Regions from separate parts of the Homo sapiens genome. Here region 2 is linked to region 1. The links are contacts of gene promoters, found by promoter capture Hi-C in blood cells and fetal thymus (Javierre and others, 2016). All regions are on one chromosome and are shown on one strand. Each heading gives the region's core, a stretch centred on a gene start or on the middle of the fragment in contact. The rest is flanking DNA. Distances are from core to core; before and after follow the strand shown. Region 1 holds the start of ZCCHC4 (zinc finger CCHC-type containing 4). Region 2 holds the start of QDPR (quinoid dihydropteridine reductase).

The links. The method cuts DNA at HindIII sites, captures the fragments that hold promoters and counts their contacts. A CHiCAGO score of 5 or more calls a contact.
Region 2: a contact is called between the fragment with the promoter of QDPR here and the fragment with the promoter of ZCCHC4 in region 1, in 1 of 17 cell types (non-activated CD4 T cells). The highest score is 7.9, in non-activated CD4 T cells.

The regions. Positions count from the first base shown.
Region 1 is chr4:25,311,509-25,314,208 of GRCh38, forward strand. It overlaps ZCCHC4 (zinc finger CCHC-type containing 4), which reads left to right and starts at 1,266. Exons shown (of 13, transcript NM_024936.3): 1 at 1,266-1,428; 2 at 2,538-2,656. The coding sequence starts at 1,302. RefSeq lists enhancers at 920-1,796, 1,325-1,384 and silencers at 1,045-1,114, 1,122-1,326. The HindIII fragment of the contact is 7,197 bases long and covers 1-2,700 here.
Region 2 is chr4:17,510,785-17,513,484 of GRCh38, forward strand. It overlaps QDPR (quinoid dihydropteridine reductase), which reads right to left and starts at 1,306. Exons shown (of 7, transcript NM_000320.3): 1 at 1,166-1,306. The coding sequence starts at 1,270. RefSeq lists a silencer at 935-1,514. The HindIII fragment of the contact is 4,464 bases long and covers 1-2,331 here.

The DNA.
Region 1 (2,700 bases), core at 16-2,515:
TATGAATGCAGTATGTTTCTGCATTTGTTTATTCTTTGATTTTTTTTTTTTTTTTTTAAGACGGAGTCTCACTCTGTCACCCAGGCTGGAGTGCAGTGGCACAATCTCGGCTCACTGCAAGCTCCGCCTTCCGGGTTCACGCCATTCTCCTGCCTCAGCCTCCCGAGTAGCTGGGACTACAGGTGCCCGCCACCACGCCTGGCTAATTTTTTTGTTTTTGTATTTTTAGTATTTTTAGTAGAGACGGGGTTTCACGGTGTTAGCCAGGATGGTCTCGATCTCCTGACCTTGTGATCCACCTGCCTTGGCCTCCCAAAATTCTGGGATTATAGGCGTGAGCCACCGTGCCCGGCTATTCTTTGATTTTTAAAAAACTTTAAAAATTGCTTATTTATTTTAGAGATGTCGTCTCGCTTTGTTGCCCGGGCTGGTTTCGAACTCCTGGATTCAAGCAATCCTCCCTCCTTGGCCCCCCAAAGTGCTGGGATTACAGGTGTGAGCCACTGCACTCAGCCTTGATTTTTTTTAATCAAGCATTTTGGAGTTTTTAGCATACATAAAGCTCTGTACATATTTCGTTAGATTTACACCTATTTCATTTATTTGAGTGATTGTAAGTGGTATTCTATTTTTTAGTGTTCTTGTGATCATTGCTAGTATTTAGAAATCCAGTTGATGTTTGTGTGTTTATCTCATATCCTGCAACCTTGCTGAACTCAGTTTAAACCGGAGGTGTTTTCCTGATAGATTCTTTCGGATTTTTAAAATGTGGACAATCATGTCATCTGCAAATCAGGACGGTTTTCTTTCTTTCTTATGTATAAATGTCAATGAGTATGCAACTATGATGTGCAACTTTCAGCATTGTCCAAAAGTTACAGAGGATGATGCAGTGACTGTGACTTTGAAAAACAAAGAATGATCCTTAAATCACAGCTGCTGCAGCCATTTCAGCTATTTGGCAGAGGTGGTAATGCTGCCTTTTGGACCTACAATACAACCAAGTCTTTGTTCGAATCATCTCACTTCCTGGCTATATTCTTAAGAAAGGAGGGTGCTTCATGCGCTGAGCTCATGGCACAGGTCCCGCAAGTGACCTGCGAGCCCCACCGCTAGGGGCCGCTTAGGTGCAGCCCCCAGGTGGGCGGGGACTGCGTTTCGGGGCGTGGCCTCCGCCGCGGCAGCCCCCGCCCAAGCTCCTCCTAAGCGCCTGGGGGCGCTGTGGGTCGCTTTGGGTCGCGGGGGCGCTCTTTCTCAGCATTCTTGTTTCGTACTGAGGCTTTCGGGACGGCGGCGGGAAGATGGCGGCCTCCAGGAATGGGTTTGAAGCCGTGGAGGCAGAGGGCAGCGCAGGGTGCCGGGGAAGCTCGGGAATGGAGGTGGTGCTTCCTTTGGATCCTGCCGTCCCCGCCCCGCTGTGCCCTCACGGTGGGTCAGAGTCTGGGCTCAGCCTAACTGCCGGGCGCTGAGGGTGTGAGTTGGCTTGGAAGTGGCTTTTGGGGCTCCTGTATTTTTACCCGCCTCTTTCCCTCACCAGTGTGCTGCCTAGAAAATACTCCTTCCTCGGAACGCGGTGTTTTTCAACTTACTTGAGAAACATTCAGAGCAAGTCTCCACTCTTGTGGTTTTGGCTCCAGGACTATTTCATCTCTTTTGGGGGGAAGGGGCAGAAAAGTAGGCAAAGAGAAGAATGCATGGTATTGAATAGTTCTCGTTGACAAGTACTTGGGGATTTCATTTGTTGATTTGCTCTCCCTTCAAAAATAAAAAATTAGGGAGAAAAACAGTGTAATTCTTGCCTGCGAACTAGACTCAGTTTTTCTCTAACTTACAGAAAGTGGGCGTTTCCAGCTCAAAGCTCAGGTTTTCACTGCAAGGGTAACCGCGCAAGAGATGTCAAAGTCCTCAATTCTCTGAGTCCCTTCCTTGTTTTAGTCTCAGGTTTGTAATATTCACAACGTAGACAGCAACTGTACCGACAATAGCATTTTCTTTCTGAAGAGACCGGTTTTCAAAAATTATTTATAAGTAGTCACTGCCGGAATGTTGTAACAGAGAGAAAAGAAACATTCATTAAACACAGAGAAGCCGGCGTGGTGGCGTGCACCTGTAGTTCCAGCACTTGGGGGGCCGAGGCGGGCTGATCGCTTGAGCCCAGGAGTTTGAGACTAGCCCGGGCAAAAATGATGACACTCCGTCTACAAAAAAAGAAAAACAGCTGGGGACACGCAACTGTAGTCCCAGCTACTCGGGATGCTGAGGCGGGAGAATCGCTTGAGGCTAGGAAGCAGGATCTCAGTGAGCCATGATTGTGCCAGTGCGCTTCAGCCTGGGCGACAGAGGGAGACCCTGTCTCAAGAAAACAAAACAAAAAACCCTAACAAAACAAAAAACAACCAACCAAAGAGATGGATTTAATTATGATAAATTGTGCCTAAAGCTCAAACAAATTTTATTTAAGGGCAGCGAAAACTAAGAACTTGACGTAGATGACCATTACTTGACACTTTTTTTTTTTTTTTCTATTCTGGAACTAGGACCCACTCTTCTGTTTGTAAAGGTGACCCAAGGGAAAGAAGAAACTCGGAGGTTTTATGCCTGTTCAGCCTGTAGAGATAGAAAAGACTGTAATTTTTTTCAGTGGGAAGATGAAAAGGTATATCAACTTTTTGGATATTTATTTTTTATTTTTGGTATGTG
Region 2 (2,700 bases), core at 56-2,555, 7.8 Mb before region 1:
CTGGCCCTTGGCAGAAGTGCTGCCTCTGTCACCACCATGCATCTCTGAAGACCTGGGAAAGCGCCCTCATCAGTGTCCCCAAGCACTGAGCAGATGGGTGGCAGGAAGGGAGTGGTGTGACTGAATTCTTCAGAAGCATATTCCTGTACCAGATTCTGAGCAACAAGAAAACCTTGGTAAATGTACACTATTTGGGTGATGGTTACACTAAAAGCCCAGACTTCACCACTACACAACATATCCATGTAACTAAACTGTACTTTTGCCCCCTTCATCTATAAAAATTAGATAGTTTTTTTTTAAAGAAAATCCTGAAAGCCTTTTTCTGGTCCCAGGGGAACTCTTGCCCAGGCTGCTGTGCTGCTGCTGCTAACTAAGCTCCCAGAACGCTGCCGCTGGCAGTGTCTCCACCGGGAAATTGCTGAGGCCTGCTGAGCGGCTGAGGTCAAGGGTCTTTGGCCATGTATCAGCTCTGCTCCGACTTGCCGCCTCCTGGAAATTGACACCTGACTATGCAAAGTAGTTGAAATAGTCTTTGCAGAGCAAAGAAGCCGTCAGCGTTTTTCCGTGCTGAGCCTTCAAACTGTCAGATCCAATGGGGCTAAAAGAACAGGGGTGGGTAGTAATAGTAACATTAATAGACAGCATTTAAACAGTTTTTACCAGGCGTCAGGTAATTTATGTGCAACGACACCAATTATCTCATCTAATCGTCCCAACTCTCACTGTCAGAATCTCCGTTGTACAAATGGGGAAACCGAGGTCCTACGGCGTTAGGTAATCAATACGCGGTCTCATGACTAGTAACCGGGACTGGGCTGTCTCATTCTAGAGCCTTCCTTCTACACTCTCTCTCCGTCCTCTCACCCCTGCTCCCGTTCCTCCCCTTTGGAATTCTCTCCCGAGTCACGCCGGACTTTTTGGGTCTGGCGGAGGCCCACGGAGCACCTCCTTGCACAGCAAAGGCCCAGCGCCCTGGGACTGGCGTGCGCACGCACTCGGAAACAGGAATAGACGCGTAGACCTGTGCGCGCACGTGCAAGCAACACGAGTCAGGGGGTGCACAGGGGCCCCCACCTTCCTCTAGACTGCCCCCCGCCGGGTTCCACACGAAAGCCCCCGGCCACCCCCGCGGAGACCCAGCAGCCCCAGCCCGCAGCATTACCCAGTTGCGGGCCCGAAAAGCCTGCACGCATCGAGAACCCAGAGCGCCCCTGCCGCCGTACACCAGCACCCGGCGCGCCTCGCCTGCAGCCGCCGCCGCCGCCATCCTGCTCCTGCCAGCCCGGCTCCCGCAGCTCCGAATGCCTCGAGCCGGAGCGCCGCGCCCCGCCCCGGCCGGCCAACCCCGCCAAGAGGGAACGCGCGGCGGCCGCGCCCCGCTCCGCGCCCGCTGCTGCCGCCTAGCGCGCTGCCACGCTCGGGGCGCCCCGCCACCCGGAGGGACTGTAACTTCGGCCAGGCCCTGCCCCTGGGACGGGGACATCGGCGAAGCCCCTCCTCCCACCCGCCAGCAAGTGCTGGGCCTCGGGGCGTGCAGCGAGCCGGGCTAAGGGCGAGGAGGGTGGAGAGCGGGTGTTTTACGAGCATTAATTTGTGAAGTGTAAGCATGTAAAATATAGTATAGTACAATTTTCGACCACTGTTTTGGCAATTTTTTATTTTTAATTGTGCATCAAAATAGAGATTTAAGTATTCCCACCTGCCAAAAAAACAGAAGAGGTCGCTCCGCTCAAGGAGCTGAAAGTCCACCGCCGAGACGAGACAAACCACACTAGGTCTTATTTCTTCTATCTAACCGTAAATTTATACCCATTAATCCAAATGGCCCTTTTACTATATGCCACCCATCGCCAGACACAGATCCTGGCATTTTCTCCCTTGTATATTAGTTATTTCTGCCCATGGCCTGTATCTTTAACACAGAGCCTCTCATCTACAGCACTACTGACATTTTGGGCCAGATAATTATTTGTGACAGGTGCTGCCCTGGGTACTGTAGGATATTTACAGCATCCCTGGCCTGCATATACTAGAAATCAATAGCAAACCCCTACCCCTCACTCATAAGAATCAAAAATATCTCCAGATTTAACAGTTGTCTCCTAGGGGCAAATTCATCACTGATAGAGAACCAGAGCTCTAACACTCTCATAACCTTCTTGATAGCAGAACCCTGTATTACATACATCTTTGTGTCACTTCCCATCCACATATAACCTTGTACACAGCAGACACAGATGTTTGTTCAGTAAACTTGTGCCAGGTAAAGCATGCAGAAATATGTCACTAGAGAAGAGGATGCAGCCAGCAGCACATTTTGTTGTCAGAAGCTTCATTATCAGAAATAGAACTGCTAGGAGGCTGGATGGAGAGGAGAGCACCATCTATTTAGTGCTCCTTATATCCAAGGCACTGCGCTAAGTGATCTGCCTGTGCTATTTCACTTTACTCCACACGATAATCCTATGCAGATTAGAAAGCTGAGGCATGAGAGTCACAGACACTTGTCTGGAAGAGTGGGAATTTGAACACAGGTCTTCAATAGCTAGAGTTCCACTTAACCACACCTTTGTTCAGCAAGACAAAGGCTTGTTGGGAATCAAGTGTTTCCCTTAGAGTTTTTCTGAAAACAATTGCTTAACCCTCAAAACACCAAAAGTTGACACAGGTCCCTCACTGACGGCAGAAATATGACTC